Regions from separate parts of the Homo sapiens genome. Here all the other regions are linked to region 1. Evidence: promoter capture Hi-C in 16 types of primary human blood cells and fetal thymus (Javierre and others, 2016). All regions are on one chromosome and are shown on one strand. Each heading gives the region's core, a stretch centred on a gene start or on the middle of the fragment in contact. The rest is flanking DNA. Distances are from core to core; before and after follow the strand shown. Region 1 holds the start of C8orf48 (chromosome 8 open reading frame 48). Region 2 holds the start of LOC105379289 (a long non-coding RNA gene). Region 3 overlaps TRMT9B (tRNA methyltransferase 9B (putative)).

Region 1 (4,084 bases), core at 696-3,195:
CAGCCACAGCTTGGTCCACAAAGCATTTTGACATTCCCAACAGCCCCTGAGAGATGGCAAGAAGATTGAGATTTCCAAAGGAAAACTATTACTCTTCATATTTGTTTAAAATCAAACTTTGACCTGTGTTTTCATGAATCTTATTTGATAAATATAGTACTGTTGAGAAATTTTCTTCCTTAGATAACACACTTACTAGAATGTAAAACTGTCCACTGGGTCACGCTGAATATTACAAGGAAATTAATTATAGAATTTCCCACCCACATATATCTCCTTCTAGGATAAAGTTATTTTTAAAAATCAAGAGAAATTTAAGACACGATTATAAAAAAGACAGATTACCCCAGACATTTGGCATGTTAGAAGACACAGATAGATTTTATTTTAAGTATAGCTCCCTTGTTCAATGTTATGGATAAGATATAGCTAAAACATGAATAGTGTGTAAATATGAATGTGTAAATATTCAGAGAATGAGGCAGAGATTTGAAATAATAAATAAGGAAAATATTGAGCCCTATTGGAAATTACTTGGAGTTACTCACAAATTACATGCCACCTCTTTTTTAAAGACTACCATTATATGATAAAATAAAATTTGGGTTGAATAAATGAAGTTGGAGTCTCCTTATCTTCAACAGGAAGCTGGCTCATATACTTGAGAGATGCTTTTTGAATATTTGACTTTCACTTTTTGCCAGAATGAACATTTGGGGAATATATCTGGCTAGACCTGAATAATACCCCCCAATCCCCAAGAAACACAGGAAGAAAGAGAGAGAGAGACAAAACTGAGAAAGAAGGGTGTCTAGGCTCTTAAAATTATCCTAGACATTGACTAAGTCCTAGACTCAAGAACTATTATAACCTAGGAAAAGTCCATCTCTAGAGTTAACATTTTATAATTTCTCACGATAATTAATAAAACTCTACTGTGTTTTTTAAATGAATCCATTAATAAAAAATATATCCTGTGTAATAGCCTAAGTTTGGGGATTCAGTTAGAAAAAAGGTTAGAGTTCCCTGAACTTATAGTACTTATTTCTCCAAATCCTCTGGACGTGTGTAAGGTAAGATTTATTTGTTCCATAGCCATTCACTCAACAGAGATTTCTTGAACACCTGCTATGTGTCTGCTGATTGCTGGGCTCATACTAGTCGGCAACACCGACATGATTTCTGCCTTCAGCCTTCATAATCAGATACTCATACAATCACATAGTTGGACACTATTTAAAAAAAAATGCTGGAAAGAGTTTAAGGCAGGGGTGGGTATTAAGCCCTTCCTGAGGAAATGGGACTCGGAGGAGGAGGATAAATTAACGATATTAAGAGTGAGGACGGGCGTGGATATGCTAGCCAGAGGGGACCTGTATGGACAAAAGGCCAGAGAAACTGATTTGGAAAATTAAGGTCCTCCCCCGCCCCTGCTCCCCACCCCCGACCCCGCCCAAACTTCGAGGTCCTCAGAATGCTGGAGCACAGAACACTACTTCTTACAGAATGGTTTCTGTATTTTGACTTTTCCCCAAAGACATGCTCTACAAGGAGGTGTCTCTTGGCTATAAACACTGCAGACAAGTTTTTGCTTGTGCATCTTGTCCAGCGCGTTTTGCTTGATTTTTAAATCTAGATGCATTTAGGCGGGCGTACACGTTCGGATTTGTCACAGGCCACCTAACTCTATTGGTCTCACACACGTGTGCCACCTGTCTGACCCCTGGGAAACAGAGTTTGCAAGGTTTTCCCGTTGACTACTCGACTTTAGCACCAAAGAGAAGCAGGAGTGCAGAAGACAGGGCAAAATCGCCAACCCGGCGCAAGCAGCGCAAGCGCAGTGGGCGCTGGGGAGCGCGGAGGAAAAGGCGGGACGCCGCATGGTGGCCAGTCACTGCGCATGAGCGGCCCGCGTTGCCAAGACAGCTGGGAAGGCGTCTCCCGGAAGACGACCTCCGCAGAGCTGATGGCATTGAGATCCATTCCCGGAGGGGTCAGCTCCTGACGGGTTCCTGAGCCAGTCTTAACCTGGGCAAAGGAGATGAGGAGCCGAGCCTGATGCATTGTGATGGCCATCTGCCCAGAATTGGCCCAAACGGACAAAAGTGCTCTTGCAAACCTTTCTGATGAGACTGAGACTTTGAAGAACTCTACTGATGAGGTACAGACTTCCAGCTCATTCAGCTCCTCTGGAGGACGGCAGTCCTCGCCCCTGACCTCTGGGAGCAAACTGGAGAGGGAAAAGCAGACTCCAAGCTTGGAACAAGGAGACACACAATCTGAGCTTTTGGACTATAAAAATTATGAAAAGAAGTTGAGTAAAAAATGGATCAACTACCTCAAGCTCAAAGACTCTAACTTTGAACGGCACCAACCAGACACCAAACTTCCAACAGAAATCACTCGGGTATCAGATGAAGAATTGAATGCCCTGCAGTCTTATTGCACCATGAAGATAAATTTGATTCATCGTAGAGGGGATTCTAAGAAGAAGACGAGCAGCAGACATAAAAAGCTGCATCTTGGATTGGATGTAGAGGCTTCAGAGAGAGATGCCTTTAGTTGTACTGTACCCGATGAACTTTTGAACAGAATCTACTTTAAAAACATGAGGACAACGCCAAAACAGGAGGCAGCAGCTAAGCAACACATATCTTATCAGTGTCCCTATTGTAACAGGAAAAGAGCGGAGCTGGCCCTGTCTGCCTTTCTGAAACAAAAGAAGACTTTACTGGAGTCATTTCTACTCCAAGAGAGAATAGATGAACATCTTCATACCAAAGACTTTCTCACCCGTATTGGAGAAGCACATCAAGACTTTCCCAGGCTTTCAGATGACCCCAGAATAATCTGGAAAAGACTGACTGAGAAAAGTCATATCAGATACTCTGGTTTTGAAAGATCAGAGACAGAGCAGAAGTTGCAGCGAGATGGAAATAGTGCTTGTCATTTACCATTTTCTCTGCCATTTCTCAAGCGACTTACTCTAATCAAACCAGAGCTGGTGATTGTTAATGATAATGTGTAATGTGGATAGATGTCTTTGTTGTGTATTTGAGTAATTACCATAATTTCTACAGGCACTTGGGAAACTAACTTAAGACTTTACTATGCTTCCTTCACAGATTTGAGGACTAAGAACTTTCACTTTTTTTTTCCTATTATAGAAGGCACTGTTGTAGTTGGAATAGTTATAAAAACTTTTACAAAATTCCAAGAGAACTATGTTGGTAGTTTGGGCCAGGATGTTGATGGTACAGAAGCAAAGTAGTATGGGGATGTAAGAGAAACTTAAAAAGTAATAACTGTCTTTGGCGATCAAATGGCTATGGGGAATTAATAAATAGTAGATGTTTGAAATGTTATTAAGGCTCTGACTTGTGCGCCCGGATGAATGATCATTAATTTCATTAAGACAGGAACACCAGAAGAGGACTATGTTTGATGGAACTGTTGAAGAGTATGATTATTTGGACATATAAGGTGCATTTGGGACATACACATTGACAGTTTGAAGAAACATTTGATTATTTGTTTTTGCGCTTCAGAGGAAAGGTATAGCCTAGAGGTGCAAAATAAATTGGGGTAGGACTGGGGGAAGGGTGGGGATCAATGGCATATAGCTGGAAGTTGAAGCCGTAGATTGTCAAGCGTTTTTGGAAATGAATAAGAAGAGAAGCAGGGTTGATACAAACTCTTGAGAAATGCCAATTAATGGCTAAGTAGAGAAAAATAAACCTGCAGAAAAGATTGTGAAAAAAGTTATCAAGTGGATCAAGGAAATCAGGAATGTATAGTGTCATAGATGCTAAGGAATGAATATTTAAAGAAGGATAGTTGTCTAACCACATCAATCAACAGAGAAGCCATGTAAAGATGATTTAGTCATGTATTGGGCACTGCTGACCTTAGCAAAAGCCATTTCACTTATACAAATGGGGCAGACAAAATAGATTGAGGAAAAATGTAAGTAAATAATGAATGGATATAGGGTACTCCTTGAAATATTTAGCTGTAAGGGGAAGAAGAAGTAAAGCTGGGGTTAGGTGTTGAGTTTTGAGAGAAGAACGCTTAAACAAATTAT
Region 2 (4,084 bases), core at 1,130-3,629, 700 kb before region 1:
AACAGGGTACAGATAGTGTTCACTAAATCTTCAATAGCCACAATTTCTCAAAGTAGCTAATGGTTTTGACCACTCTCAGAAGCGTCTTTGAAACTCAAGTTGTTTATCACATCTATGTGACATTCACACTTTAATATCATTAAAGAGAATACTGGTCCCAATTTGAGCTAGTACCACCTAGGTGAGTTGTAACGTGCAAATAATCTTTACTCTTGGTATAAATCCATCTTGGGTGTCCCATGATGGACTATTGTAAGTGTGCAGAGGGTTACTTTTATAGCCTGATAAAGATTTCTCCTCATCTCTGATATATTGCATTTTGGTTGCCTCGAATTTGTCTGATGCATGGTGTGAAATTAAAATGTTAGTTGACAGTGTCGTTTTACACATGCACAGATCCTCCATTCCTATTCATTTCTCAGCACAGGTCAGGATTTTCACCTCTTTTGTGAAGGAAAGCTTTTACCTCATGTTTTATAAAGTTATAAATGCTCTGAACATAAATTCTCACACAACCCCTGTGGTTTCCGAGGCAAATCACAAACTTACAGAACAACATTGCTCTGCTTGATCTTGAATAGTAAAATATTTTATAGGAAACATAGAGCTAACTAGGGGAAGTAGTCATTTCTGCTGTAAAGACATGGCTTTATGGTCACAAAGGGATGAATTTTGGAGAGGGTGGTGGCCCTTTCTCACCCCAAGTTGGCATCTGCTTCTCAAAGAGAGGGGGCTGAGGTTATAACCTGAGCAGACAGGAATACTCACTTTGAGCAACTGTCTAGAGCTTTCAGAGCCAGCCATACAAACAGTCAAAATCTGATGCAGAAAGAGTACAAAACCCACAATGTAAAATAATGAGTAATATTTTTTAATACTGTGGTATCTGTTTCTGATTTAGGGTCAATCTTAGTTTACAAACTGAAGCGAGAAGACACGCAGGCTAGGAAACCATGGCACAGAAGATTAAGCGGTTTAACTCTGGTCAAGAAACTAGTAGCTGCTTAAGTAATTATTGTATCCAGTCTCCTTCCTTCTTCACACTGCACACTTGAATAACTGAGCTGCCGCAAGCAACCTGACCTTCAGAAGTAGATGGGTCTGCCTCTATCAAGATTGCATGCATTCAGAGCCAAAGAAAATACAAAACTGTCCAACACTTCAAGAAGGGAGAAGAAACATTAGGAGAAATATCTAATGTAGATAATATGTTGATCGGTGCAGCAAACCACCATGGCACGTGTATACCTATGTAACAAACCTGCACATTCTGCATATGTATCCCAGAACTTAAAGTATTAAAAAAACTATAATTTCTACCTTTTTGACTGTACCATCCCATCATTTTCATCAGCTTAATAAATGTCAAAACAAATTTGATTGTTTTCAAATTTTTAGCCAAACTGGAGGAAAATATTGACTAGTCCCCACCTCGGAACAGAATTATGGACTCTCACTATTTTCTCTTTTATCATCTCTACCAACAATGTAAGCTTATCTAGACCCATGTGCATGATTGAAAGAAGAAGGTACATTTTTATTGTGGTAAAACATACATTAACATGAAATTTACCATGTAAATCATTTTGAAGTGTACAATTCATTGGCATTAACTACATTCACGTTGTTACGCAATCATTATCACCACCCATTTCTAGAACTTTTTCATCATCCCAAACAGAAACTGTACTCATTAAATAATAACTCCTGATTAATCTCTCCCCCCAACCACTGGTAACTTCTATTTTCCATCTCTGTGAATGTATCTATTCTAGGTACCTCATATAGGTGGAATCACACATTATTTGTCCTTTTGTGACCTACTTATTTCACATAATGTAGCACAATGTCTTCAATACTCACCTCTGTTGTAGCATGTGTAGCAGTGCACAAAGCTTCCAAGGTCTCCACATTCTCACCAACATTTATTTTCCATTTTTCGATACTAGCCTTCCTAATGAGTGTGAGAAGAAGGTATTTTATTTATTTATTTATTTATTTTGAGACAGAATTTGACTCTTGTCACCCAGGCTGGAGTGCAATGGCACGATCTCGGCTCACTGCAACCTCCGCCTCCCAGGTTCAAGTGATTCTCCTGTCTCAGCCTCCTGAGTAGCTGGGATTACAGGCACCTGCCACCATGCCTGACTAATTTTTTTTGTATTTAGGAGAGACGGGGTTTCACCATGTTAGTCCGGCTGGTCTCAAACTCCCGACCTCAGGTGATCCACCCGCCTCATCCTCCCAAAGTGCTGGGATTACAGGCATGCACCACCACGCCCTGCCAGAAGAACCCATCTTTTAACCCATTTTTGAGGTGGCCCCAGTGCTGCAAATATATTAATAGCTTAATACATTTTTTGGAGAGCCAAACAAATATGACTTGATGAGAAGTTTGCCATCTCTATCTCTTCATTAAGCCAGAGTAGCCACCCATAAAGTATATTTTGACAGAGGTTCTGGAATAAAGCCATGCCAGGGACAAGGGGTGAGAGGAAGCATCTGGCGGAAAGTCTCGCAAGTCCAAAATCTGTACAGCAAACCATCAGGCTGGAAATTCAGCAAGAGTTGAAGTTGAAGACCTGAATCCAAAATCTGCAGGCTGGACACCCAGGCAGTGTTTCTATATTGAAATCTTGAGGCAGAGTTTCTTCCTCTTTGGGATGCTTCAGTCTTTTCTCCTAAGACCTGATTGAATGAGGCCTACCCATATTATGAAGGGTAGTCTATTTTACTGAAAGTCTACTGATTTAAATGTTAAGTTTATTCTAAAAATACCTTCACAGCTACATCCAGTTTAGTGTTTGACCAAACATCTGGGTACCATAACCTAGTCAATTTGACATATTACATTGACCACAATAGAAGCTTCTACAATAGGAGATTTTACCCTAAGTTTACACTAAAAATGTAAAGAAGCTGAGCACAGTGGCTCACATCTGTTATCCCAGCACTTTGAGAGGCCTAAGTGGAGGTTACTTGAGTCCAGGAGTTCAAGGCCAACCTGGGCAACATAATCAGACCCCATCTCTAAAAAAAAAGAAAAAGAAAAACTAGTTAAGACTTTACATCAAGGACTCAACAGTAAAGACTAAGAACTTTATACTAATGTAAGACTTTATACTAAAAAAAAGCTTGTTTGTTTGTAATGGGGTTTTTAGATGTTACTTTTGTTCTCAATTACTGAAACTTTCAGGCATAAATTTGGGTTTTATAAATATTAGCAATTACCATGGGAGGGTCTTAACAAAATCATTTTTAAATGAATCCTTTACAAATCATTTAAAAACTTTTCTGCGAGGATTCTTGATGCTTCTATTCTTCTTCTTCAAATCAAAAAAACATCTACTGTCACAGACTTCGAACCATGCAGTATTTGCTTTGTGGATTGTTAGATCATAGAGAGTGTTTTCTAGTTTGATCAGAGGGTAGGGGGATTGGATATGCCTGGGGAAACTGAAGTTGAAAATGTGAGCCAGGTTGGGAGTTGAGTAGCAGGGCAAGAGTTTGGACTGGTTTGAAATGGGACGTTTAACTGATAGAACTGGAGATTGTTTGGCCTATAGGATTGGAGGGATAAACTTATTTGACAGCTATCGGCTTGTGGAGGACAGAATTTGAAAATCCTTCCACTAAAAGCACCTAGAAATACTGGCTAAAATATAATATATTTTTATTATCTAATGTAGACACAGTTCAGAAATGAACCTGGAACTAAAACCACAGTGAGAAGCTTTGAGCAGTGATGCTCTGGCTTCCAGAGGACAGGTTGTTAGTCTCAGCAATCTAGGAATCTGCTGATCTTCAGTTACCTGGGGCATCTCTGTTAATACGAAAAAGAAGAGGGGAGATGAATGAAGCCTTGAGTCTTTCTCAAATGGGAAGTTGGAACCAAGGGGCCTACATAAAGTCAGCACTTTCAAAGTACTGCTCCCTATTAAGAGCAAAGACTAGAAACAAATCCACTCCAACAGAAAGACAACAAAGAGACAGGTAAGTCTTGTTCCTTCTGCCATTAGGTCAGAACCAGAGTTCCCAAAGCAATGTGTTCTCTATTATTTGACAATGAATTTCCTTCTCTTGC
Region 3 (4,084 bases), core at 691-3,190, 540 kb before region 1:
GGTTTCACCGTGTTAGCCAGGATGGTCTCGATCTCCTGACGTCGTGATCCACCCGCCTCGGCCCCCCACAGTGCTGGGATTACAGGCGTGAGCCACCGCGCCCGGCCTGTTCCTTTTATTTCTTAATTCAGGACACTAAACCATGACTGCAAGGGATTTCCTTGGTAAAAAGAAAAGATTCTCAGAGTCAAAATGGTCTTACAACTCGGGCTTGACGGCCTTTGAATTATGAATGGATTGTTCCTCTCTCTGAAGCCTATTGTCACATGGGTTTTTAATCCTGGCCTTGCTGCTAGAAATCTGTGCTTGAAGTCCTCTCTTTCTGCTGCTAGCCTACCAGTTAAAAGTCAAGACTTGGTGGAACTCAGTTTACCAGACTCTTTAGCCTTTGAGCTAAACTGTCTGAGCAACCTCTTAGATGTGCACACACCACTTTGTATGAAAGGGTTCTCTAGAACGGTTCTTTGGAGAGAAATATTTTCATGTACGTTTGACAGGGGTGTAAATAAAGCATGCTGACTAATAAGTCTTTTACTCTTCATCTAATGAACATAAGAATCTATGCATCCAGATATTATTTTGTATACAAATATTTAATTTGGTGATTGATAATCTCTCTTTGGGGTAGTCACATGGAAAGCTCTTTTAAATTTAACTTCCGCCTTTGGATTTTTTTTAAAAAGCCATTGAAGAGCAAAACTAATGTAAACGTCTTGATCATTTAAAAAGCTTGCTTGTCCTCGAAAGGAAACACAGGTCATCAGTGAGTATAAACGTAGACAGTTGATTTGTGAATGCTGTCGGCCTCAACTTGCTTGATGATAGATTCTACTGACCTAGCTGGAGTAATCTGATCACTTACTTCCTTATTAATACTAGATCACACAGTGTCTTTCTTATTCCTTCTTCTTTACTTACTGGCATCAGCACAGAGTCCCACTATCTGAAATAGAAGGGAGAGTTTGGGGGTTTATTGGAGGAGTCTTAAAAACTTGGTTGGCAGCTGGGTACGATGACTCACACCTGTACTCCCAGCACTTCAGGAAGCTGAGGTGGGTGGATCAGCTGAGGTCAGGAGTTTGAGACCAGCCTGACCAACATGGTGAAACCCCGTCTTTATTAAATACAAAAAATTAGCCAGGTTGGTGGCGCATGCCTGTAATCCCAGCTACTTGGGAGGCTGAGGCAGGAGAATCGCTTGAACCTGGGAGGCGGAGGTTGCAGTGAGCCGAGATTGTGCCATTGCACTCCAACCTGGGCAACAAGAGTGAAACTCCATCTCCAACAAAACAAAACTTTGCTGGCTTCCTGATGCCTCACTGTCTATTTGAGGAATTCCACAGAATCTTCAAAGGATTTGGGGGAAAGCGCATTAACATGGACAAAGGATGGAATCAAAATAATGTTATAGTGAGAATCATTCAAGCACCTATTTAAATTTTTTCCAATTGCCAGTATAGTGATGATATGACACCAGCATATCAAAGTAACTAACAAACTAGCTACACAAACGTCTTGGAGTTTGGTTTCGTTCTCTTTTCTCATCATAGATCTCCGTGCAGAATAGTGCTAATTCTTATTTCTCGTTTGCCTTTCTATTTCCTTCCAAATTCTACATGCCAGTAATTCCTCTGTCTTTTAAGTGACCATCAATTCAATAGGCAAAAATTTGGAGTAATCCAGAGAAAAAACCATCCAAATATAAACCAGCTAGGAACATGAATGCCCCTGATTATTAATGGCCAAAAAAAAAGCACTGGTGGATTTTAAATTAAATTAATACATATATACGAGTTTGGAGGAGAACAGAAGTTCTAACTCAGTACTTGAACTTGGTGGGGGAGGGCACAGGTTAAATATGAGCTGTGAGCCCCCAGTTTTGGAGGAAGGAGGAAATGGGAACCAACCACCAGACAAGCAGCTGCAGTCTAAGAAAAACAAATTAGGGCAGGCCTCAGCATCTCTTTCCTATTACATAGAAAATCTGAAATGAGAATAGCTGTGAACTTTTCTAAATATGCAACATTCAACTATCGCAAGGACAAAAAACCAAACACCGCATGTTCTCACTCATAGGTGGGAATTGAACAATGAGAACACATGGACACAGTAAGGGGAACATCACACACTGGGACCTGTTGTGACCCCGCTGAGGGAGTTCCTCTTGCCCTCTACCCCCGGGGCTTGTATATAGATTATAAATATATAAGGGGGAAAGGGGTGGGGGGGAGGGGTTGTGCGGCTGGGGCCTCACTTCCCCTCCTTCCCCTTCTCCTGGTCCCCTGTCCCAGGGGCTGTTTGTTAAAAAAGAGTAATAAAGGATTTTTGTTTTTAAAAAAAGCAACGTTCATTAATTTATATGCAGTCCTCACCACAGCCCTCCAAGATAACTATACTTATTGTTCCCATTTTGCAGATGAGGAAAACTGAGGCAGAAAGAAATTAAATTGCTTAAGGTTACACACATAGTAGGTATCACACATTTAGTTAGAGGCAGAGCTGGGATTCAAACCCAGGTCTGGCTCCTAGTCTCTGCTCTTAACCACAACACCATATACTCCCACCCCTGGGCCCAGCTCATGTGCTTGGCGGAGTATTAGAGCCTTTCAAGGTAAGTGTGATTATCCCCTTTCCAAATGAGCTTTGGAAAAGTTTAAGCAAAGATTACACAGCTAGACAATAATTCAATAGTAGTCTCTTACATATTTTCCCTTTTATCTTTTTTTCATTTGTAAATCTGTTTCGATTTGATTTGAATTAAAAAATAGTTCTTGGTTGCAAAATATTCTGGGACCACTTTTCTCCAACTCTTCAACCTTTCAACAATTATATTATTGTTTTCCCATTTTATAAGTAAGGCAACTGAGGACTATTCAGATATTTCATTCACTCCATTTGTTTACTAAGCCCTGCTGTGTGCTGGATACACAGTCTGCTGTGTGCTGGATACATATGATACAAGGTAATGACTATCTGGCATCTTGAAGGTACCCAGAATATTAGAATTAACTGACCCACAGGTGCCAAGCTGAAACATTCTTCGTATTCCCTGTGTGCCTATTACCAAGTTATATTGTTTAGTTTGAGGAAAACAACAAACAACCCTCCCTTAGAGAATCATGATGCATATTAGCATATTTAAGGAGTACCCTAAAGCTTGGACTTAATCTAGCTTACCCTAGACGTATTAACATCCTATAGCGCACGTGTTCTGTGGGATATATTTCAGAAAATAATATGTCTTACAGAATAAATGCAGACTCCTTTGGATGGCATTCAGGCCCTTCATAAAGTAACTCTGAATTATTTTTCAGTCTCATTTCCTGCAGTTGCACCCGATTTTTTCTGTTCTGCAATCTGCTATTTTAGACAAAGCTTTCATAAGAAATTACATAATGACAAGTAATTCCCACATTCCCTAGATATATACTTGGATTTCAAATGCCATAATTGTAATCTTTCTCCAAAGAAAAATGCACGATACAGGCTTCATTCTATCAAGAGGCATATGAGGTAAGCGTTATTATACACCCGTCCAGCAGATGGGAAAACCACGGAAGTGGGAGGGAATCAAGAAGCATTAACAGACCCTCCACCAACCGTAATGCTTAACTCCTCTTGTTCCAATCTTAACTCAAAATTATGATTATTTTGATTATTTAATGATTGTTTTGATAGTATAAACTCCATATCTGCAACCTCAGTTATCTACAACACTGAGGTGCAAACATTTAAAAAGATCTCTCACCAAACAAGGATTGAAATTGTATTGCAAATGAAAGAGCTCAGCATGAGAGCACAATCAGAAACTGAAGAGAGTTGATCAAAGAGAAGATTCTAGCTGAATTGTTCTATTTTTAATTCCCCAGGGATCCTACGGTCTATGACACATTAACAGGGGTGTGAATCATTTCAGTTACATCACATACTCTGTCCTCTTGTGGTGCGGGTCTTCCCCAGTTGATTATACACAGATAATCAATGACTTTATTTGGGAGGGATTGGAGCTATAGAATAATCTATCTTACCAATCTGATGGACCATTTGTAAGAGCTGTTTGTCAAATTGGATCTTCATTTGACAA

What was found. Contacts are between HindIII fragments. The CHiCAGO score rates a contact against its expected background, and 5 or more counts as called.
Region 2: a contact is called between a fragment that was not itself captured here and the fragment with the promoter of C8orf48 in region 1, in 1 of 17 cell types (megakaryocytes). The highest score is 5.7, in megakaryocytes.
Region 3: a contact is called between a fragment that was not itself captured here and the fragment with the promoter of C8orf48 in region 1, in 1 of 17 cell types (erythroblasts). The highest score is 6.0, in erythroblasts.

What each region holds. Positions count from the first base shown.
Region 1 is chr8:13,564,924-13,569,007 of GRCh38, forward strand. C8orf48 (chromosome 8 open reading frame 48) reads left to right here and starts at 1,946. Exons shown (of 1, transcript NM_001007090.3): 1 at 1,946-3,365. The coding sequence starts at 2,069. The coding sequence ends at 3,028. It also overlaps a transcript of DLC1 not described here. The HindIII fragment of the contact is 14,151 bases long and covers 1-2,254 here.
Region 2 is chr8:12,862,004-12,866,087 of GRCh38, forward strand. LOC105379289 (a long non-coding RNA gene) reads left to right here and starts at 3,463. Exons shown (of 3, transcript XR_949509.3): 1 at 3,463-3,993. The HindIII fragment of the contact is 973 bases long and covers 1,894-2,866 here.
Region 3 is chr8:13,024,236-13,028,319 of GRCh38, forward strand. TRMT9B (tRNA methyltransferase 9B (putative)) reads left to right here. Exons shown (of 5, transcript NM_020844.3): 5 at 1-4,084. The region is part of intron 3 of LOC124901889 (a long non-coding RNA gene); the gene reads right to left. Among named protein-coding and RNA genes, the nearest start is that of TRMT9B, 81 kb to the left of the region's middle. The HindIII fragment of the contact is 2,427 bases long and covers 728-3,154 here.